Linked DNA regions of Homo sapiens: all the other regions are linked to region 3. The links are contacts of gene promoters, found by promoter capture Hi-C in blood cells and fetal thymus (Javierre and others, 2016). All regions are on one chromosome and are shown on one strand. The core of a region is centred on a gene start or on the middle of the fragment in contact, and the rest is flanking DNA. Distances in the headings are between cores, read along the strand shown. Region 1 overlaps PHTF2 (putative homeodomain transcription factor 2). Region 2 holds the start of YWHAG (tyrosine 3-monooxygenase/tryptophan 5-monooxygenase activation protein gamma). Region 3 holds the start of FGL2 (fibrinogen like 2). Region 4 overlaps TMEM60 (transmembrane protein 60). Region 5 overlaps RSBN1L (round spermatid basic protein 1 like).

The links. Contacts are between HindIII fragments. The CHiCAGO score rates a contact against its expected background, and 5 or more counts as called.
Region 1: a contact is called between a fragment that was not itself captured here and the fragment with the promoter of FGL2 in region 3, in 1 of 17 cell types (naive B cells). The highest score is 5.7, in naive B cells.
Region 2: the fragment with the promoter of YWHAG here is called in contact with the fragment with the promoter of FGL2 in region 3 in 7 of 17 cell types (neutrophils, naive CD8 T cells, fetal thymus and 4 more); the score reaches 9.7 in neutrophils.
Region 4: a contact is called between a fragment that was not itself captured here and the fragment with the promoter of FGL2 in region 3, in 1 of 17 cell types (neutrophils). The highest score is 5.1, in neutrophils.
Region 5: a fragment that was not itself captured here is called in contact with the fragment with the promoter of FGL2 in region 3 in 1 of 17 cell types (neutrophils); the score reaches 5.5 in neutrophils.

The regions. Positions count from the first base shown.
Region 1 is chr7:77,815,023-77,819,733 of GRCh38, reverse strand. The region is part of intron 1 of PHTF2 (putative homeodomain transcription factor 2); the gene reads right to left. Among named protein-coding and RNA genes, the nearest start is that of PHTF2, 19 kb to the right of the region's middle. The HindIII fragment of the contact is 2,341 bases long and covers 1,484-3,824 here.
Region 2 is chr7:76,357,658-76,362,206 of GRCh38, reverse strand. It overlaps YWHAG (tyrosine 3-monooxygenase/tryptophan 5-monooxygenase activation protein gamma), which reads left to right and starts at 3,216. Exons shown (of 2, transcript NM_012479.4): 1 at 3,216-3,485. The coding sequence starts at 3,399. It also overlaps the pseudogene PPIAP81. RefSeq lists silencers at 2,882-3,291, 3,612-3,811, 3,895-4,085 and an enhancer at 3,141-3,787. The HindIII fragment of the contact is 9,671 bases long and covers 1-4,549 here.
Region 3 is chr7:77,196,650-77,201,435 of GRCh38, reverse strand. It overlaps FGL2 (fibrinogen like 2), which reads left to right and starts at 1,617. Exons shown (of 2, transcript NM_006682.3): 1 at 1,617-2,255; 2 at 4,451-4,786. The coding sequence starts at 1,643. The region is part of intron 2 of CCDC146 (coiled-coil domain containing 146); the gene reads right to left. RefSeq lists a silencer at 1,917-2,026. The HindIII fragment of the contact is 5,002 bases long and covers 1-3,952 here.
Region 4 is chr7:77,790,452-77,794,817 of GRCh38, reverse strand. It overlaps TMEM60 (transmembrane protein 60), which reads left to right. Exons shown (of 2, transcript NM_032936.4): 2 at 395-1,090. The coding sequence starts at 445. The coding sequence ends at 846. Among named protein-coding and RNA genes, the nearest start is that of TMEM60, 5.8 kb to the left of the region's middle. The HindIII fragment of the contact is 1,770 bases long and covers 920-2,689 here.
Region 5 is chr7:77,761,444-77,766,025 of GRCh38, reverse strand. RSBN1L (round spermatid basic protein 1 like) reads right to left here. Exons shown (of 8, transcript NM_198467.3): 4 at 394-531. Among named protein-coding and RNA genes, the nearest start is that of TMEM60, 35 kb to the left of the region's middle. RefSeq lists an enhancer at 1,263-1,763. The HindIII fragment of the contact is 5,069 bases long and covers 478-4,582 here.

The sequences.
Region 1 (4,711 bases), core at 1,405-3,904, 620 kb before region 3:
CCCTGAAACCAAAACTAGACAAGAAGACAACAAAAAGAAGAAAACTGCAGGCTAATATATTCGATGCACATACACATAAAAATTCTCAACAAAATATTAGCAAGCCAAATCTAACAACACATCAAAAAGATAATACATCATGATTCAGGGGAATTTATCTGAGGAACGCAAGGACGGTTCAACAAATACAAATCAATAAACATCATACATCACACCAATAGAATAAAAGACAAAAACCATATGGTCATCTTGATAGATACAGAAAAAGCATTTGATAAAAGTCAACATTCTTTCATGATTAAAACCTCTCAAATTAGGGATAGAAGGAAAATATCTCAACATAATAAAGGCCATATATGGCAAAGCCAAAGCTAACATCATACTGACTAGGAAAAAGCCAAAAGTGTTTCCTCTGACTACTAGAACAAGACAAGGATGCCTACTTTCACAACTCTTATTCAATATACTACTGAAAGTCCTAGTTGGAGCAATTAGTCAAGAGAAAGAAATAATAGGCAACCAAGTTGAAAAGGAGGAAGTCAAAATGTCTATTTGCAGATGACACAATCTTATATATAGAAAAACTTAAAGACTATACCAAAAACTCTTAGAACTGATAGATGAAATCAGTATAATTGCAAGATACAGTATCAATATTCACAAATCAGTAGCATTTCTAAACACAAACAATCAACTAGCTGAAAATGAAATAAAAAAGGCAATCTTATTTACTACAGCAACAACAAAAGAATACCTAGGAATAAATTTAAACAAGGAGGTGAAAGACCTCTATAGGAAAACTATAAAATGCTGATTAAAGAAACTGAAGAGGATACAAACAAATGAAAGACATCTCATGCATATGGATCAGAAGAATATTATTAAAGTGACCCCACAACCCAAAGAAATCTACAGAGTCAATGCACATGTCAAAATAACAATTACTTTCTTCACAGAAACAGAAAAAACAATCCCAAAATACATATGGAACTACAAAAGCCTCTGAATAGCTGAAGCAATCCTGAGCACAAAGAGGAGGCATCACACCACCAGACTTTCAAATATACTACAAAGCCGTAGTAACCAAAACAGCATAGTACTGGCATAAAAACAGACACATAGATCAGTGGAACAGAATAGAGAACCCAGAAATTAATCAATCCATGTATCTACAGTTAACTGATTTTTGACAAAGGTGTCAGGAACACTCATTGAGGAAAGGATAGCCTCTTCAATAAATACTTCTGGGAAAACTGGATATGCAGAAGAATGAAACTAGATGCCCATCTCTCATCCTATACAAAAATCAACCCCAAAATGAATCAAAGACCTAAATGTAAAACCCAGAACTACAAAACTATTAAAAGAAAACAGCAGAAATGCTTCAGGGCATTGGTTTCTGGGAAAAGATTTTATGAATAAGTCCTCAAAAACATAGGCAACAAAAGCAAAAATAAATGAGATTATATAAAAACAAAAAGCTTTTGCATAGCAAAGGAAACAATCAACAGAGTAAAAAGATAACCTATAGACTAGGAGAAAATATTTGCAAACTATTCATGGGACAGGGAATTAATAGCCAGAATATACAAGGAACTCAAACTGTTGTTTTTTTTTTTTTTTGAGACGGAGTTTTGCTCTCATTGCCCAGACTAGAGTACAGTAGTGCAATCTCGGCTCACTGCAACTTCCACCTTCCAGTTTGAAGAGATTCTCCTGCCTCAGCCTCCCAAGTAGCTGGGATTACAGGCGCCCGCCACCATGCCCGGCTAATTTTTTTGTATTTTTAGTAGAGATGGGGGTTCACCATGTTGGTCAGGCTGGTCTCGACCTGCTGACTTCGTGATCCACCCACCTTGGCCTCCCAAAGTGCTGGGATTACAGGCATGAGCCACCGCACCCGGCCCGGAACTCAAACTTTTTAACATCAAAAAACAAACAATCCAATTTAAAGATGGGCAAAAAATCTAAAGACATTTCTCAAAAGAAGACATACATGTAGCGAATAAACATATTTAAAAATGCCCAACATCACTAATTGATATGGTTTGGCTCTGTGTTCCCACCCAAATCTCATCTTAAATTGTAGTTTCCACAATCCCCGTGTGTCATGGGAAGGACCTGGTGGGAGGTAACTGAATCATTGGGGTGGTTTCCCTCATGCTATTCTTGTGATAGTAAGTTCTCACAAGATCTGATGGTTTCATAAAGGGCTTCACCCTTTGCTTGGTTCTCATTCTTCTCTCTCCTGCTGCCATGTGAAGAAGGATGTGTTTGCTTCCCCTTCCATCATGATTTTAAGTTTCCTGATGCCTCCCCAGCCATGCTCAACTGTGAGTCAATTAAACCTCTTTCCTTTATAAATTACCCAGGCTCAGGTATGTCTTTATTAGCAGCGTGAGAACGAACTAATACACTAATCATCAGGGAAATGCAAATCAAAACCATAATGAGATACCATCTCATCAACTTAAAATGGCTACTGTCAAAAAAACAAGAAAATAACAAATGCTGATGAGAATGCAGAGAAAAAGGAACTCTTACACATTTGGTAGGAATGTAAACTAGTACAGCTACTATGGAGAAGAGCATGGAGATTCCTCAAAAAACTACTAATAGAACTACCATATGATCCAGCAATCCCACCACTGGGAATTTTATCCAAAGGAAAGAAAATCAGTATATTGATGAGACATCTGTACCCCATGTTTATTGCAGCACTATTCACAATAGTCAAGATATGGAATCAACCTACATGCCCAACAACAGATGAATGGATAAAGAAAATGGGGTCTACAGACAGTGGAATACTGTTTTGCCATAAAAAGAATCAAATCCTGTCATTCGCAGCAACATGGATGGAACTGGAGGACATCATGTTAAGCGAAAAAAGCCAGGAACAGAAAGTTAAACCCTGCATGTTCTCACTCATAAGTAGAAGCTAAAAAGCTGATCTCATAGAAGTAAAAAGTAGAATGGAGGATACCAGAGACTGGGAGGGGCATAAGGAAGAGAGAGATCAGAAGAGATTTGTGAAAGGTTACAAAATCACAGTTAGATAGGAAGAATAAGTTCTAGTGTTCTATACCACTGTTGGATGACTATAGTTAACAATAATATATAGTTGCAAATAGCTACAAGAAATAATGTTTGAAATAATGTATACGTCAATTACTCTGATCTGATCACTATACATTACATGTACTGAAACATCATTATGTACCCCTCAAATATGTACATTATGTGTCAATTAATAAAAGTAGTTTTTTAAAATAATGTAATTGAATTGAGCAAAATGAAACATGTATCTGTCCTGGACCCATGTACTATAAACAGGCAAACTATTAAAAGTTATTTCATGTCAGGCATGGTGGCTCACTCTTGAAATCCCAGCACTTTGGGAGGCCGAGGCAGGCAGATCACTTGAGGTCAGGAGTTTGAGACCAGCCTGGCCAACATGGTGAAACCCCATCTCTACTAAAAATACAAAAATTAGCCAGGCATTGTGGTACGCACCTGTAATCCCAGCTACTTGAGAGACTGAGGCACGAGAATCACTTGAACCTAGGAGGCAGAGATTGCAGCCAGCCAAGATTGCACCATTGCATTTCAGCCTGGGCGACAGATCATGACTCTTGTCTCAAAGAAAAAAAAAAAGTTATTCCAATATATAAAAAGAATAACCAAATTTCCAAGAGAATACAAAAAGCCAGACTAAACACAAGCATCTAACTTTACTACCTTACAATATCTAACTGAAATGACAGCAAACGCATACATACATGAGAACAGAGAGAACGGAAAAAAACAACAAAAATGAAGCTTGAAAGAAGATATGTGACTTGTAACTGACCTAGCAGATCCGAGACAGCAGACAGCAATAGTAGAGAAAGGAGAATATTAACCCAATTTATGCAATAAAACAAAGTTTCAGGGATTCATGGTTTAAGCATCCCCTGGAAACGGGAATAAAGTTAGTCCCATCTTTAGGCAGACTAGTTGAAAGCTGTTAAAATAAAAGATCCATTTTCTCTCACACCATGCCAATGAGTGACTATTTCTCTATGACCCTGCAGATGACTGGAAGTCAAACATGTATCATTATGAATGGTAAATAAAATATCAATTGAAAGAGCTGAACCTGTTTGTCCCTGGGAAACAGAAACTGTGGAAAAGGGGCTCTATGGCCGCTATTTTCCTAAATTTTGTATAACTATCTCTGAAAACATCTATCTGCAGAACTTTGATAAAAACTACAAATTGAAACCAGTTTTAAATTTCAATTTCCAAATAGTTATAGCTTCAGTAAACTGGAATTCTTACCATCATAAATATGATGGAATTATGCAATATATTCCAACATTTCCATTTAACATATTGGACAGCCACTTTCATAGATTTCGTATGCAAATCTGCCTGCTTGCTAAAATCAATACTCCTGGTACTTTTGCAGTCATTTACAGATATGCACAAAGCAGAGAAAAATCTGAGGTTCCCAACACGCATGTTCCCAGCAAAGGCTGAACAAGATGACACTATCTTCTTAAATAAGACAGCTATTATACCATAAACAAGGGTCCTTTTTGTGGTGTAGTGTCCTGTTTTTGGCTTTTTTTTTCTTTTTGTTGGGATTTTGCTGTTTTATTTTATTTTATTTTTGAGACAGAGTGTAGCTGTTGCCCAGGCTGGACTGCAGGGGCGTGATATCAGC
Region 2 (4,549 bases), core at 1,967-4,466, 840 kb after region 3:
ACCATGTTGGCCAGGCTGGTCTCGAACTCCTGACCTCAAGTGATCTGCCCACCTCGGCCTCCTAAAGTGCTAAGGTTACAGGCGTGAGCCACCGCGCCCGGCCATAGCAATGGTGATCTTCTTGCTGGTCTTGCCATTCCTGGACTCGTAGCGCTCCATGGCCTCCACAATATTCATGCTCGCTTTCACCTTGCCAAAGACCTCCATGCTGGCCATCTAACCACTTAGTCTTGGCAGTGCAGATGAAAAACTGGGAAGCATTTGTGTTGGGTCCAACATCTGCCATGGGCAAGATGCCAGGATCTGTATGCTTCAGGATGAGGTTCTCTTCATCGAATTTCTCCCCATAGATGGACTTGCCACCAGTGCCATTATGGTGTGTAAAGTTACCACCCTGACACATAATCCCTGGAGTAATTCTGTGAAAGTAGGAACCCTTGCCGGGCGTAATGGCTCACACCTGTAATCCCAGCACTTTGGGAGGCTGAGGCGGATGGATCATGAGGTCAGGAGTTCGAGACCAGCCTAACATGGTGAAACACCGTCTCTACTAAAAATACAAAAATTAGCTGGGCGTGGTGGTGCGCGCCTGTAATCCCAGCTACTTAGAAGGCTGAGGCAGGAGAATCGCTTGAACCCGGGAGGCAGAGGTTGCAGTGAGCCAAGACTGCACCACTGCACTCCAGCCTGGGCTACAGAGCGAGACTCTGTCTCAAAAAAAAAAAAAGAAAAAGAAAAGAAAAAAAAAGAGAGAGTAGGAACCCTTATAACCAAATCCTTTCTCTCCAGTGCTCAGAGAACGAAAGTTTTCTGCTGTCTTTACAACACTGTCTGCTAACAGCTCCGATATGTTAACATGGCTTTACAGTTTAGATGAGAGGTCACTTCTTTTTTTTTTTTTTTTTTTGAGACGGAGTCTTTTTCTGTCTCCCAGGCTGGAGTGCACTGGCACAATCTCGGCTCACTGCAAGCTCCGGAGAGGTCACTTGGCTTCTTGGTTTCCATGCCCCTAACCTTGAAGGAGACGCAGCCCAAGGGCTCAATAGTAATGTCAAAGAACACGGTGGGATTGACCATGGCCAGTAGTAGAGTACTCCTGGCAGCAGCAGAGTCTGCAAAGCTCACTTTTTTTTTGTTTTGTTTTTTGATATGGAGTTTCGCTCTTGTTGCCCAGGCTGAAGTGCAATGAAACGATCTCGGCTCACTGCAACCTCCACCTCCCAGGTTCAAGCAATTCTCCTGCCTCAGCCTCCCAAGTAGCTGGGATTACAGGTGCCCACCACCACACCCAGCTAATTTTTGTATTTTTAGTTGAGATGGGGTTTTGCTACGTTAGCCAGGCTGGTCTCGAACTCCTGACCTCAGATGATCCACCCGCTTCGGCCTCCCAAAGTGTTGGGATTACAGGTGTGAGTCACCGTGCCAGGCCAAAGCTCACTTCTTTTTTTTTTTCGAGACGGAGTCTCGCTCTGTCACCCATGCTGGAGTGCAGTAGAGGGATCTCAGCTCACTGCAACCTCCGACTCCCGGGTTCAAGTGATTCTCCTGCCTCAGCCTCCCGAGTAGCTGGGATAACAGGTGGGCACCACCACGCCCAGCTAGTTCTTTTGTATTTTTTGTAGAGACAGGGTTTCACCATGTTGGCCAGGATGGTCTCGATCTCCTGACCTTGTCATCCGCCCGCCTCGGTCTCCCAAAGTGCTGGGATTACAGGTGTGAGTCACCGTGCCCAGCCTTTAAAAAACTTTTTATTTTATTATTTGTTTTTGAAACGGAGTCTTGCTCTGTCGCCAGACTGGAGTGCAGTGGCGCAATCTCAGCTCACTGCAACCTCAAAACTCACTCCTTACTGACTTCTAGCATACTGTACATATCTCACCTATTTTCTTGGGCAGGGATTTTTGTCTGTTTTGTTCACTACTGTACCTCGTGGCTTAGAATAGGGCTTGGAACACAGTAGCTTCTCATAGATAATTGTTGAATACATAAAGTAAATAAAATGTGCAGTCAAAACTATCAGGCCTGCAGGCATGGTGGCTCACATCTGTAATCCCAGCACCTTGGGAGGCCGAGGCGTGAGGATCGCTTGAGCCCAGGAGTTCGAGACCAGCATGGGCAACAAAGCTAGACCCCCGTCTCTACAAAAAAGCAAAACAAAGCAAAAAAACCCATGCTATCTGCAAGCTATGTGGAATAATATGAACGAGAATATATCAGCGTGACCTCAGTAGGTATGTATGTCTTAGGAGGGGAGAGAAGGGCTGGACAACCAAGCCCTAGACGCAGCCCAGTTAGATGTGGAGTAGGCTCCTGGTAGCTGAACTCAATCTTTAGCACTCCACCCTGGAGAGGAAGAAGGGGTTCTCCAGGGTCAGCCAGCAGACAGCTGCATCCTTTCTGGAAATCAACCACTGTGGCCAGCCGGTATTTGTCGTTCGTCCATGTTTTCACCTATTCAGGCCCAAGAGCCTCAAGGTGGGGTGGGGGGTTTAATGGAAGCTCGTAGGGGGTGGAGGTGACAGTCCCCAGGGTCTGGCCCCTTAATTCGGCCATCCCGCGGGCAGGCACCACACTGAGAGTCTGGATCTACAATGGACGCGCCTCCTGTCCTTCCCCCACCACGACCTGCTACGTGATCTCGGAAACAGGGTCTAGGACTGAGGCCCCTGCCCCCTCCTCTCGTAATTTCCCGGAGAATATGGGGCGGGGCGGTGAATCAGCACTCGCAGGGACTGATGCAGCCCTGATCCCCGCCAGGGGTCCCCAGCGGCCTCGGGATTCGAAGCACCCCCCCCCGTCCTCCTGCGCCTGCGCGCTATGTCCGCTGGGAGTTGTAGTCTTGACCGCCCCTTTGTCCTTGGTCTCCTCAGCGCCTCAGTGCACTGCAGGTTACACTACAACTCCCAGGGGCCCATGCGTCCGAGGGCTGGCGGGGCGGGAGGCTCAAGGGGGAGGCGTAAGGGGGCGACTGGAGAAGCTGGGGTGAGGGAACTGGGGAGTGAAGTGAAAAAAGGGGAGAGTGGGGGCGCAGTGGGAAAGGACGGGGTGCCCGGAAGACGCGCAGTGAGCCCAGCTGGGGAGCGGGGAGTTCTAGCCGCGGCCGGGCTCGGGCGGGGCATGGGCGGGGCTTGCGGACGGGTGGGCGGGGCCTGCCTTCGTCATGCGGCGTGGGCGGGGCCGCAGGGGGTTGTCCGTCAGTGGCACGCACAGCAGCCGCAGCCGCCTCGCGCCCGGTCCCGCGGTCGCAGCTCCAGCCGCCTCCTCCGCGCAGCCGCCGCCTCAGCTGCTCGCTCTGTGGGTCGGTCCTCTCCGGCACTTGGGCTCCAGTCGCGCCCTCCAAGCCCTTCAGGCCGCCCCAGTGTCCTCCTCCTTCTCCGGCCAGACCCAGCCCCGCGAAGATGGTGGACCGCGAGCAACTGGTGCAGAAAGCCCGGCTGGCCGAGCAGGCGGAGCGCTACGACGACATGGCCGCGGCCATGAAGAACGTGAGTGTCTCCTCCCCTCCCCCGCCGCTCCCTGCCCCTCCGAAGACGCGGTCCTTGGCGTGGAAGGCCCGGGGCTTCGTCGCCCTGTCGCGATGGCGGGTTGACCGCCCCGTCTCGCTCACTGAGGGGGGCTGGGGAGGGTCCCGAGAGGCGACGGGAACCCGGGCTGTGACGCGGCCTCTTTTCGGAGTCCCCGTGGCCCCGCGGCGCTGCCATTCAGGCCCGGCGCGGGCGCGGGCCGGGGCGAGGTCCCGCGGGGCTGGACTTGGGAGCGGGGTCTCCGGCCCCCGCGGCTCTAGGGGTGCAGGGGACCCGAGCGGGGAGGCGTGCGCATCCTTTGTGCCCCACTTCCCCCCTCCTCCTAGCCTGGGCGTGGGGGCGGGGGACCGCATGGATGCGGTTCCTCTTTCTCTCCCTGGTGTCTGGGCGGCGCCTTTCCCATTCACTCAGCAGGTCTCCCGGTTTTCCACCTCCCCAGCCCCCCCAGAATCTTCCCCACTGTCTGTCCCGACACATCCCTGAGAATCTTCCCAGAAACATTGTATAGGGTCTCTTGAAAACCTGAGCTCCGTGGTGCAAAATCGAAACCACCTTGCTCACGTTTTTCTTAACAAAAGGCTCTTCTTTCTCCATTCGCCCAAAGCAAGTCCTCCGGCTTTTAGGAAGGGAGAACGTTTGTCTCGCTAGCGTTTTCATTGATCATTCTCAACATGTCATCTCCATTTTATTCCCTAATGTTTTTGTATTGAAAAGGGTAGGTATTGCCTGTAAAATTAAAAGGTGGTGAATGTAGCTGACTGGTTCGATTCGTGTGACATATGCCGTTTCTTTTTTGAATACAGGCACGCGTCTGTTGAAATTCCTATAAGTTGGGGGAAAAAATATTCTGTCTGATCTGATAGTGCAAACAAAGCCGTGGTGAGAGGCAGTATCAAGTCATTCCAGAAGATTCTGCATTTGTCATATTGCAGAGAGCCTAGACTGGGTGGAGGCTGGGAGGAGTTATTTTAAAGGGGAAAAAGTCTTTTTAAAAATTTTTGGTTGTTAGATGCATCTGAGGCTTT
Region 3 (4,786 bases), core at 368-2,867:
ATTACAGGCACACGCCACCATACCTGGCTAATTTTTTTTTTTTTTTTTGTATTTTTAGTAGAGATGGGGTTTCACCATGTTGGCCAGGTTGGTCTCAAACTCCTGATCTCAGGTGATCCACATGCCTCGGCCTCCCAATGTGTTGGGATTACAGGCGTGAGCCACCACGCCCAGCCAAGTGCTCCAAGTTTGCATGACTATCATTCCTGTATGAGGGAAGAAATAGCTAAATTCCTCCGCTACAGCTACAGGAACAAAGGCTCATTAAAGCTGATGATCTGTTTACATGATCAGAGGTAGATCTAGGGTTGGAAGCCAGGTCTCCTGAGTATGCGAGAATAAATACAGTCATGGAAGAGTAAAGAGTCTGCCAACATTTTGAGAATGTGAATAGGATTTGGCTAAAATTAAGGGGATATACAGAAAAGTCATAGGAAATCAGGTTAAAGACATAAATATGAGATAGGCTACAGAGTGTTTTAAGTAATACAATAAAACATTTAGATTTTTGCCCATGTCAGTCATTTTGAAATTATTTTTAAAGCAAAAAAACCCTTTTTAAACAAGAAATCTTATGAGATGTCAATATGCAAAACAAATTAAAAGGAGGTGGTTTCTCTAACTGAAGCTGTTCCTCTTTCCTGCCTTCAGCCTCTGAAGAGAAAGTTAGAAAACTATTATCATTAATGCTACATGTTTTGAACAAGCTGATATACCAAGTGGCCCAGAGAGCAGGTAGAAGAACCAGCGTGGAGACAGAAAGCAAGAGGCCCGCCTGCCAGGGCTACCTGCAGAAAGAAAGGGCAAAGATGCTGTAGGCAAGAGAAGTTCAGGACAGACACTGGCATAGCTCAAAGATTCACATTTGAGCAGCTGTGGAAGATGACAGTACAATTACCAAAATGTCGAAGGGCAAAGGAGGCAGCTACTGGTTTTGATGAAAGACAATTATGTCCTTTTAAATGGGTCTTAGACATTTAGACATTAATATACACTATGCTACGGACAAAGGAATAGAAAGTAGCACTTTTTTCTCCACTAGTTTTCTTCTCTTTTTCAAGTAGATGAAGCAAAAGTCAACTGCAATAGTCAGAAAGCTGTACTTTGTTACACTTAGAAACTTCTAAAAGTGCTTAAGATTTCACCTGAAAGTCCAACATGAAGAAAATACAGGCTCCCCAATGCCCCATTCTAAGAAGGAAAAAGGACCATTTTCATTTTAGTAACGTTTCTGTTCTATAGACAGTTTGGATAACTAGCTCTTACTTTTTATCTTTAAAAACTGTTTTTCCAGTGAAGTTACGTATAATTATTTACTTCAAGCGTAAGTATACCAAATTACTTTAGAAATGCAAGACTTTTCTTATACTTCATAAAATACATTATGAAAGTGAATCTTGTTGGCTGTGTACATTTGACTATAATAATTTCAATGCATATTATTTCTATTGAGAGTAAGTTACAGTTTTTGGCAAACTGCGTTTGATGAGGGCTATCTCCTCTTCCTGTGCGTTTCTAAAACTTGTGATGCAAACGCTCCCACCCTTTCCTGGGAACACAGAAAGCCTGACTCAGGCAGCTGCCGCTATTAAAGCAGCTCCAGCCCTGCGCACTCCCTGCTGGGGTGAGCAGCACTGTAAAGATGAAGCTGGCTAACTGGTACTGGCTGAGCTCAGCTGTTCTTGCCACTTACGGTTTTTTGGTTGTGGCAAACAATGAAACAGAGGAAATTAAAGATGAAAGAGCAAAGGATGTCTGCCCAGTGAGACTAGAAAGCAGAGGGAAATGCGAAGAGGCAGGGGAGTGCCCCTACCAGGTAAGCCTGCCCCCCTTGACTATTCAGCTCCCGAAGCAATTCAGCAGGATCGAGGAGGTGTTCAAAGAAGTCCAAAACCTCAAGGAAATCGTAAATAGTCTAAAGAAATCTTGCCAAGACTGCAAGCTGCAGGCTGATGACAACGGAGACCCAGGCAGAAACGGACTGTTGTTACCCAGTACAGGAGCCCCGGGAGAGGTTGGTGATAACAGAGTTAGAGAATTAGAGAGTGAGGTTAACAAGCTGTCCTCTGAGCTAAAGAATGCCAAAGAGGAGATCAATGTACTTCATGGTCGCCTGGAGAAGCTGAATCTTGTAAATATGAACAACATAGAAAATTATGTTGACAGCAAAGTGGCAAATCTAACATTTGTTGTCAATAGTTTGGATGGCAAATGTTCAAAGTGTCCCAGCCAAGAACAAATACAGTCACGTCCAGGTATGTATAATAATGTTTTCTTATCATATGTTCATAAATGTTATACAGCTAGAGAGTATCTATAAACATTAACCTGAGTCAGTAAGTTAAATAGATGACAGATTAAGTCTTTTATTTATCAAGGTGCACAGGAAAAAATAAATATCTTCTCAAATATGACCACATAAATATGACCTAATTACAAAAATCATAGTTAGTTCTGTATCCACTGGAAGTCACTTTCAATTTTAAGATCTTATTTGTTAATGCCAGACCTACTTGCAAGCAGAAGTAGAGAGAATTTCTTGATGTTTTAGTGCATTTAACTTGTCTCTTCAATGAGGTGTTTGAAAACAATAAAGATAAGGCGATGTTCACAATTGTGCCTTGTTTGTTGGAAATCAGTTTTTCTTGTGATTGACTGACTGCCGCTTCTCATGGCTAAAGAGGTCTTTGAAAGATTTTAGCAAGTAATCTAGTTCTTAATCCCAAATATCTGGAGAAAATGGGAGAGTTTACAGATGGAATAAAAGCAGTTTCATATGTGTGCACAAATTTTTGCTTTGAGACCTAGTGGCACAAAAAATATTTTAAGGGGAGAGTTTTAGCATGCCACTAAGGGAAGGTATTCATATTTCTTTCTCTTTTACCTGAAGTTAGAATTCAAGCAGATAGAAGTAGAACCCATCCTCACCATCCAAATTACTTGAATTAACTTTAATAAATACATGTGAAATTCCACAGACTTAATCGCCTACTCCACCCACGAACTAACAGTGGTATTGACTCTCCAAACCTTGGCTTTTCACCTGAGTCACTGGGACCACTGTTGCTGACTGTCTCATACTTTGGAAAGCCATCTCCGCATTTGGACCTCTACTTACCATGAACGTGAGGTTGAAAGGACAGGGCGGAGATCACTTTCATTTAGAGACAGTATCTCAGGCATGCTCCATCCCCAGGGCATCTGCCAGTGAAGGAGGGAAGGGTCATATTTTCAAGGACCTCTATTGGTAATACTCCTGGCAGCCTGCATCTGAATGTACCTGGCACACTGCGAATCCAAGGTTCACCGCTTAGGTGACATCAGTGGGTATACATTAGATTAGATGCTGCATGGCAACTTGTCATGATATGAAGACTATTGTCTATTTTTCTCCTAAACATTTTGGGTGAAATAACTGAATATTCTGAGCTCTAAATATACAGGAATAGATTTTTATGCCTTAGGGTATCTCATATTAAACTTACCTTATTTGTCACACATTTTAATAAAAACTATCTGGGAGTAAATATCTGTCTGATTCATACAGAACTTTGTTAACTGATTATTATGCTTATCCTCAATATAGTCACCTGTTGTTTCTTTCTAGAAACCCAACATGTGAAATAGTGGCTAAATACTTTCCTAGATAATAAATACAGAATAAGAATATTGGTGTGTCATTGAAAAAGATACTTCTTTTTCACTTGAGCTTCTTTATATAGTTGTCAAGTGAAATGAATATGAATTTATGATCAATCCTATGCATTAGGATTTTAACACATCATTTGGAATATATGCTATAAAACCTTCTGACAGTAGAGGCTATCAGCCCCTTTAGGTGAAAGAAAATAGAAGCCTGTGCTTCCTCTGTATGCAAGGAATACAGTTCTAGGAGAGTTAGAATCATCTGATTTTTAGGACCAAGGGATGCAATGATTACGAGAACAAAGCTTTGCTGCCAGCCAGATCTGAGTTAGTGTCCTGGCTCTGCCACTTAAAGCTCAGGTGAAGGTGGGCAAGCCACTGATCTTTATGCCTAAATATCCTCACATGCAGACTGGCAGTAACGCCTACATCATAAGGTCAATGTTCAGATTCAGTGTGAAAATGTTACCCAGTCTGGCAGCATGCCTAGAACGTATAGGTAGGCCTCACTACATAATACTAAATTATTAAAACTGTACTTTTATTATTTTCTTATTGTCGTTTGCTGTTGATGCTGTCATTATTACTACCAACCAAGAGTATATTAGAGGTCCTTTCTGCTTTATAACATTAGGTTCTTCTTGTGAGGCCTTAAGCATTTGCTAAACAGGTTCAAGTAAGTTTAGTAAAGTTTCATTACTGCCATTGATTCAATTATCAAACTGCTTTTGTACATATAAAGAATTCTTCAGATGCATGGTTTCTATTAACAAGATCCAATGCCTTCCTTTTATTTCCCCTTCAGTTCAACATCTAATATATAAAGATTGCTCTGACTACTACGCAATAGGCAAAAGAAGCAGTGAGACCTACAGAGTTACACCTGATCCCAAAAATAGTAGCTTTGAAGTTTACTGTGACATGGAGACCATGGGGGGAGGCTGGACAGTGCTGCAGGCACGTCTCGATGGGAGCACCAACTTCACCAGAACATGGCAAGACTACAAAGCAGGCTTTGGAAACCTCAGAAGGGAATTTTGGCTGGGGAACGATAAAATTCATCTTCTGACCAAGAGTAAGGAAATGATTCTGAGAATAGATCTTGAAGACTTTAATGGTGTCGAACTATATGCCTTGTATG
Region 4 (4,366 bases), core at 555-3,054, 590 kb before region 3:
TCACTACTTTGAATGCTTTTTTCTTTGTACCCCTTGAAATTGAATTAAAAATTAGATTTGCAAATGTATAGGAAGATTAAGAACATCTTTGAGGTGCAGGAATAAAGTTGTAAGTGCCTGGACTCGAGTGATAGCACTGAAAAGGAATCACCTGACATTTTGAATAGAGCTTATACAGTAGATATAATAAAAATTGTATTTTGTCATGGGCTGTAAGGAATGGTGGATATAATGTCAATGATCACTAAGTTTTAGAGGATTTGAAAGGAAGAATAGTAGAATGTTTTCAAAATTAGGAAGTCAGTTGGGAAAGAACCAGTTTTGTTCATTAGGAATGGAAGTGATACTTTTTTTCTGGTATCAAAACAATCTTGACTTTTTCTCCTTCTCTTAGGGTATATTTCCTTTTTTCCGATCCTGCAACAGCCTCTTTAAACTGTTTAAATGAGAATGTCCTTGGCTCAGAGAGTACTACTCACCTGGCTTTTCACACTACTCTTCTTGATCATGTTGGTGTTGAAACTGGATGAGAAAGCACCTTGGAACTGGTTCCTCATATTCATTCCAGTCTGGATATTTGATACTATCCTTCTTGTCCTGCTGATTGTGAAAATGGCTGGGCGGTGTAAGTCTGGCTTTGACCCTCGACATGGATCACACAATATTAAAAAAAAAGCCTGGTACCTCATTGCAATGTTACTTAAATTAGCCTTCTGCCTCGCACTCTGTGCTAAACTGGAACAGTTTACTACCATGAATCTATCCTATGTCTTCATTCCTTTATGGGCCTTGCTGGCTGGGGCTTTAACAGAACTCGGATATAATGTCTTTTTTGTGAGAGACTGACTTCTAAGTACATCATCTCCTTTCTATTGCTGTTCAACAAGTTACCATTAAAGTGTTCTGAATCTGTCAAGCTTCAAGAATACCAGAGAACTGAGGGAAAATACCAAATGTAGTTTTATACTACTTCCATAAAACAGGATTGGTGAATCACGGACTTCTAGTCAACCTACAGCTTAATTATTCAGCATTTGAGTTATTGAGATCCTTATTATCTCTATGTAAATAAAGTTTGTTTTGGACCTCATTTTTCTACATGACTCTTGAATAATCTGTTGTATGTGGTCAATATCTAAAGTAACTAAATATAAAACCTTTAACCTACATGTTTGGGCCAGGCGAGGTGGCTCACACCTGTTATCCCAGCACTTTGGGAGGCTGAGGCGGGTGGATCACTTGAGGTCAGGAGTTCAGGACCAGCCTGGCCAACATGGTGAAACCCTGTCTCTACTAAAAGTACAAAAATTAGCCAGGCATGGTAGCGGGCGCCTGTAATCCCAGCTACTTGAGAGGCTGAGACAGGAGAATCACTTGAACCCGGGAGGTGGAGGTTGCAGTGAGCCAAAATCACACCACTGCACTCCAGCCTGGGCAATAGGACTAGACTCCGTCTCAAAAACAAAACAAAACCTACATTTTTTAATAGAAGTTTAATATACCATGGCTGTATTATGACCAAAGTAAATGGCCATTTGTGTTTCTAAATTATGAAGGAAAAAAAACCTGAAACAGGGATGCCACTTCGTATTTACATTTAGAAAGAATCTGAGTTTGACAGATTTTTATCTAGGCTAAATTCACTATTACCTCTACCTTCTGGTTGGGACAAATAATTTAGAGGTGGCATGTTAAAACAGAGCAGAAAAGCCAGGCGCACTGGCTCACGCCTGTAATCCCAGCACTTTGGGAGGCCAAGGCGGGCAGATCACAAGGTCAAAAGATCAAGACCATCCTGGCCAACATGGTGAAACCCCATCTCTACTAAAAATACAAGAATTAGCTGGGTATGGTGGTGGGCGCCTGTAGTCCCAGCTACTCAGGAGGCTGAGGCAGGAGAATCGCTTGAACCCCAGAGGCGGAGGTTGCAATGAGCTGAGATCACACCACTGCACCCCAGCCTGGCAAAAGAGTGAGACTCCATCTCAAAAAAAAAAAAAACAAAAACAAAAACAAACAGCAGAAGCCTGCCACTTCCTAAAGTTAGGGAGACCCTATAATCCTGATTCTGTCAGGACAGGCCCAGTTTATATACCTATTGTCCTGGGGTCTCAAGGAATTAGTGCCCCCTCACAATTAGAAGTGTCTTGAATTGAGAAAGCATATTATCACCCTCCCAAGGTACTAATCAATTCCAATGAAGCAGAGGTGACAGTACTTATAAAAATTCCAAAGAGGTTGAAGTGTCTTATAACCCTGAAGCACGATGATTGTTCTTACCCTATGCAACCCTCACTTTTAGCTTTAAGAGAAACCTCAAGTGATTTTTTCTCCGTTTTAAAAAAATCAAACAAAAAAGTGATTTCTGGCTACTGATACAGAAGGTCTAGTTCTCCCTTGTAATGACAGATAACATAAGTTTCACAATACAACAGATTAATACAGCTTAACTCATTAGGCATTTGAAACTAGAGAGCTAGGCTAAATAAATAAAAACTAATCAACTGCAAAGTTTTCATCTTATAATTGACAATAATTAGGATTTTCAGTATGTAAAAATAGGATTGAGAACAGTTAGTACTGGGAACGGAATGTTCCAGGCTTGATCAGATACCTCTAACTCAATTGAGAGATGCATACTTTGGTTTATGGGATCTATCGTTAAATAAATTCAAAGTAGAAGAAAGCTTACATCTCTCTAAGAAACCAGCCAAGAGGATTTTGGAGTACAGGGAAAAGGAAAAGAAGGGATGGCACCACAGCAAACAATCAGCTAGGCCAGGAGTCAGCAAAATTTCTCTGTAAAGGGCTTCTCAGTAAATATTTAGGCTTTTAGGTGATGTGGTTTCTTTTGCAACTACTGAACTCAGTCCTTATGGCAGAGAAAGCAGCCACAGACCATGGCTATATCCCAATAAAACCTTATTTATGGACATGAAATTTAAATTTCAAATGATTTTCACATCACAAAATATTTTTACTTTTGTTTCAACCATTTAATGGCATAAAAACCATTCTTGCCTCACACACAATAGAAAAACTGGTGGTAGGTTAGATATGGCCTACAGGAGGTAATTTGCTGACCCCTGTGCTAGGCAATAAAAGCATAATGGAATTCTGTATGAGACGTTAAGAGGAAAGGTAGAACAGGTCTCTTGCTCCCCCAAACAGTTCTACGAGGAAGGAAGAGAGAGATTAAGTAAGAATTGTATGTAAACTGCAACACAATAACCGACCTGTTTACACAAGCGTCAATGAATTTTAACAGCATCTGAAGGATTCCCAGAAAGTAGAACTGCCGCACTAAATAAACACTTGAAGCAGCACAATAAATTATCATGGATATGTGCAATACACACATCAGTGTGTTACATTAAAACATTACGTAATGAAAGACATTAAAGATAGAAATCATGCTTACAGGTAGAAAAATCAAAACAAATGGACTAATATGTAAACAATTAGTATTGTACAAAAATACCTTCCTAGGTTTTAGTTATAGGATTCTTCCTTTGTATTACAGAGATATTTACCAATGACGTTTTTTAAGATTAAACACACAATGCCTCATGAAAGAAACTTAAACATCAGAGGTTCTTACCAAAGCCGATTTTTTCTAGGTTAGCATGGATGTAACTCACTCTGGTTTGGGCAAAAGATTTGTCATCAACAATCTGAGTAAAAGCAACCTGTGCACAAAATAACTTTTTATAAGACTTGAAACTATGACAAGGGGCCGAGTGCAGTGGCTCACGCCTGTGGTCCCAGCTACATGGAAGGCTGAGGTGGGAGGATCGCTTGAACCCAGGAATTCAAGATTACAGTAAGCTATGATCATGCCACTGCACTCCAGCATGGGTGACAAAGTGAGACTCTGTCTCAAAAAAAAAAAAAAAAAAATGGCTGAGTGCGGTGGCCCACACCCATACCTGTAATCCCAGCACTTTGGGAGGCCAAGGCGGGTGGATCATCTGAGATCAGGAGTTCGAGACTAGCCTGGCCAACAAGGTAAAACCCTGTCTCTACTAAAAATAGAAAAAATTAGCCGGGTGTGGTGGCAGGCACCTGTAGTACCAGCTCAGGAGGCTGAGGCAGGAGAATCACTTGAACCTGGGAAGCAGCGGTTGCAGTGAGCCGAGATCACACCATGGCACTCCAGCCTGGACAACAAGAGTGAAACTCCCTCTCAAAAAATAAAATAATAATTTAAAAAAACATTCAAATGATCCAAAACTTAGTAACATTTCATGAACATAGGGACCAGATATGGTAGCCTCAACCAAACATGTAAAACATGAACACAAATCTGCCAACAAAGAGCCTTCAAGCACCAAGAAAAATACTTGTATAAACCTTCAAGAAGTAG
Region 5 (4,582 bases), core at 1,763-4,262, 560 kb before region 3:
GCCATTCCTTTGTCTTAAACATTTGTAGTAGAATCCTTCCTGTACTTCTTAAGTCCTTTAGTACTTAGTTTACAAAGAGCTGATAAACACATGGAACCTAATTTCCTAAAGTGTTAAGAGGTGTTATTTCATGGCCCACCACTTAGCTTTGCCATTACAATTAGAACCTGAGATGTCGCATGTACACACTACACAAGAATTATGTCAGTTTCCCATCTCTTGCTCTCCTTCCCTCCAGTTCAAATAAAACCAAAACGTTTCTATTTCTGAAACAGCCATTCATTTATATTGCATGTAGCATGAAAGAAACAATCACAATTTAGATTACTCATATTGGTTTTTCTTCCCTTTTTTAAAAAAAAAACTCTAATCCCATGACAGATTGTCTCTTACTTTTAAAAATGGTGACTCTTCCAACATGTCAAGGAACTCAGGGAAATAATCTCCTACTTCTTCATCAACTGCTCCCACCAAGCTTATTTGTCTCATTGGGCCAGCTCTGTAAGTACCATGAGAATACGTTCTTTTTACCTGAAGAAACATGGATTTAATTAAAAGTTAAATACGTTCTTTTTACCTGAAGAATATGGATTTAATTAAAAGTTACACATAAGATAATGCTTGCTATCATTTTGTAGCAATAAATTATTATCTCAGAATATTATATCATAATGAGGCAAGCAAAACAAAACTTTACTAACAGTAACAGATAAGGCATTTTAAAAATAAAACTTGCACTAAATCAAGCTATTTTACTTTCTCTAACTATTCCTACACACTGCTTATGAAAACAGAGTTAAGACAAATAAGCATTAATTCTAGACAACTAACATCTCCTTAGAACAGAGGAACTCATTATCTGAGTATTCAAAAGTTGGTGTACCTGCATTTTTCTAAAGTGAAATGAAGTTCATATCTTTTCATCAACATTTTCAAAATTAGACCCTCTGAAAACATTTAACCATCAACAGTGGCTTATATGACTAAAAGGCCACCAGGGATGCTCTTCTTTTTTGATCTTACCATATTAACTAGAAACCAGTTTATATACCTATTATTAACTCTCATGAGAAACTACTAGAAATTAAGAATCACAGCCGGGCGCAGTGGCTCACACCTGTAATCCCAGCACTTTGGGAGGCCAAGGCAGGCGGATCATGAGGTCAGGAGATCAAGACCATCCTGGCCAACATGGTGAAACCCCGTCTCTACTAATAATACAAAAAAATCAGCCGAGTGTGGTGGCCGGCGCGCGCCTGTAGTCCCAGCTACTTGGGAGGCTGAGGCAGGAGAATGGCGTGAACCTGGGTGGCGGAGCTTGCAATGAGCCGAGATTGTGCCACTGCACTCCAGCCTGGGCGACAGAGCGAGACTATGTCTCAAAAAAAAAAAAAGAAAGAAAGAAATTAAGAATCAGGAATCCTAAAATCCAAATCTGCCTTTGCTATCTACCAGTTACATGACCTTCAGAAATCATTTGCGTTCCTTGAGCTGTGGTTTCCTTAACTGGAATGTTTTACAGCAGATTGCTGAAGAAAATTTGATAATGATATAAACTCACCTGCCATAATGCTAGCAAATGGGTGGCATTCAAAGAGCCAAAACAAAGCCATGTGCACCTCAAGATTGATTGGTAACTACATTTCTTGCCAGCATATTTAAATCCTGACAAAGAAACCTATGTGTTTTCATATACTAACACTAGTAAACAAGCTGAGTCTGTCTTCAAGCGAAACAACTCGTTTTGATAACCAAATTATAAGCAAAACTGTAATTGTCTCTTTCTCTGGATTAGCCTTTGTGGACAACAAATTTAGGAGACCAATTTGTCCCAGTTTGCCCAGGACTATCAGTCTTAAAACTGAAAGTCTTGTATTTCAGGCAAACATGGATGGTCAACTTTTATCACATCACAGACACAGATTATAAAAGATAGTCACATCAAAAGTTGAATCCTTACAATCATAGCTGGTAAGAGTATCACAACGTAACAAAGTAAACCCCAACCCACATGTTTTCATACAAAATCATTTAAGGAAGAGAATCTCATTTGTTATTATAATCAGCAAAGCAGTTTAATAATGACATTAATTCTTTAATAAATTCACCAGATTTCTAAGCCTAAATTTTCCTAAACTGTTACAAATTGACTTCTCAGAACCACAAACCATTCCTACAAGTTAGAAAATTAAGGGCCTGTAAGCCCAGCACTTTGAGAAGTGGGAGGATATCTCCAGCCTGGCAGGTCCAGGCTGCAGTGAGCTGTCATCAGGCCACTGCACTCCAGCCTGGGCAACAGAGCGAGATCCTGTCTCAAAAAAACAAACAAATATAAGAACAGCTGGGGCTTATGCCCCCATTGTATGCTCATTGTCTCATCTTTTTCCTGTCGCCTAAAAATTCCTATCATCTCCAATATCAAGAGAGCTAACAGTTAAAGCCTAACTCTACAACAGTCTTCAGGCTCTAGATGCATTAATAGCAGCACAGTAAGAAATTCAGTCTATGCACCTCTGTAATGCAGTCTATCAAAGAAGCTAAGGGTATCAATCTCAACTCTAGCACATTTACCAGAATAGAACACATCAAGTCTGTTAAGTGATTCTGAGATTCTGAGTTTTGTGTCTGCAAATGACCATAAGGGGTTTTGAGAGACGATAACCATTTAGAAAGTGAAATCAAACAACTGATATTGTAAAACACAAATTTTCCAAGTGCTTTGAAATATATCTAAAAAGTCAAATTAGAGTTAGGGGTGGTGACACGAAACTGTAATCCCAGCTACCCAGAAGGCAGAGGCAAGAGGATCACTTGAGCCCAGGAGTTCAAGATCTGCCTGAGCAACACAGCGAGACCAAAAAAAAAAAAAAAAAAAAGTCAAATTATATATATTTCCACCTCATACAAATAAGTACATTTTCTGTGCATAAATTTCCTTATCTTGTTTAAATTAGATACCTACAACATTTAGTTCTAACAAAGCCATAATCAAGTCCTTGCCACTGAGTTGGTTCATTCTATGACATCACAGTACCAACAATGATCACCTAAATAATTTGGGCAGTTTATCTTGTGCGGAGGGGATGACTGTTAGGAAAGAATTTTCATTAAGTGAATTCTTCTAAAATACGAAGCACAACTAAACTTTCAATTTATCTAGTAGTTTTAAAAAGTCATATTATACATGAAATAAAACCAAAAAACTATAACATTATTAAATTATAGAGAGTAGGAGATAATATAATAATCAGAAAACCGGAACCAATTGTTAACACAGTCCTTGTAGAGTAAAATTTATGTATTTAAATGTGAGTAAAAACATGTATCATTGAGTAACAGGAAAAAATTGGGTAAAACTTGGGTGGTAATATTACAGACACATCATATGTTGTGTCATGACTCAAGAACTTTATTTACTAATTTTGCTTTGACCAGATGTTGCTATTTCAGGTTAGAATAATTATTTCATTGACTGAAGAAGTATTACTGACCTAGCCATCTCATTTCTTTCAAATTATACATTTACATTAATTTCCAAGTTTACAAATAATGCTTTTTATTTCAAAATAAAACAAAACACGTCTAAATTAGTATAGACCTAAACATTAAAATGTTTAACATAATAGACTGAATAAATCAAAAACCGATTTTTCCCCCATTCTCTGTCTAGTTTGGGCACTACCTAAGAAGAGGCTTTATCTTTTGCTGATTATTTTTAAGTATGGTCCTATTAAAATTCATAACTATTTCAAAGGATTTTTTAGAGACCCTGAATTTTTAAAGTAAAGTAATACAGACTCTACTCCGATTATATTGCTAAATATCTTAATTGAATTTTTAGTTAGTTCTTCCCACCTCATGCCAAAATACATATAAAACATATAGATATGTAAAATTCACTTTCACACATAACTTATTATAACAAAAGTATAAGTCTCTCCCTTGTAACCAGAATGTACAGGTAGATGCCATTTGCCCACTAATAAAACCAAAAATAAATCCTATTAGGAAATTGGCCTTTATAAAAACTGCTTAGCTCTCACATGTTTAAAACAAAACGGCAATGATCTTCCAAAACCTTTATTCTCCAACAGTAAAGATAAAATGATGATCACCCACCTGAATAAACATATTTAAACTTAGACCAAATTTAAAAAATTAAATTGAAGTCATCAAAATCTTAATCTGTAAAAGTATTAAATTTTAAAATATATTGTAATATAACCTTTAACTATATATCATTTCATACAAATTTCTAGTTTAATAACACAATATTTCAAATCCATCAGTTGTAACCATTAACTTAAATGTTATAAACATGGCAAGTTACACACAACAATGTTTCCAATTTAAAAAGTATATACTGCTTGATAAAATACATGATGGTACTTAAGTTGTTAAAATAAAATGTAAGAATAAAATCCACACGCTTTTCACAAAAATGTAAATACTTCTTGATTTTGGTGACACCTCTTTTGTTGCAAAACTATATACCAAATATGCAGAATTCACCTATTACAAAAAAATCAAGCCTCATTTCTCTAAAAATCACCTATCCAGACTATGCCAGACTGCGAAGAAC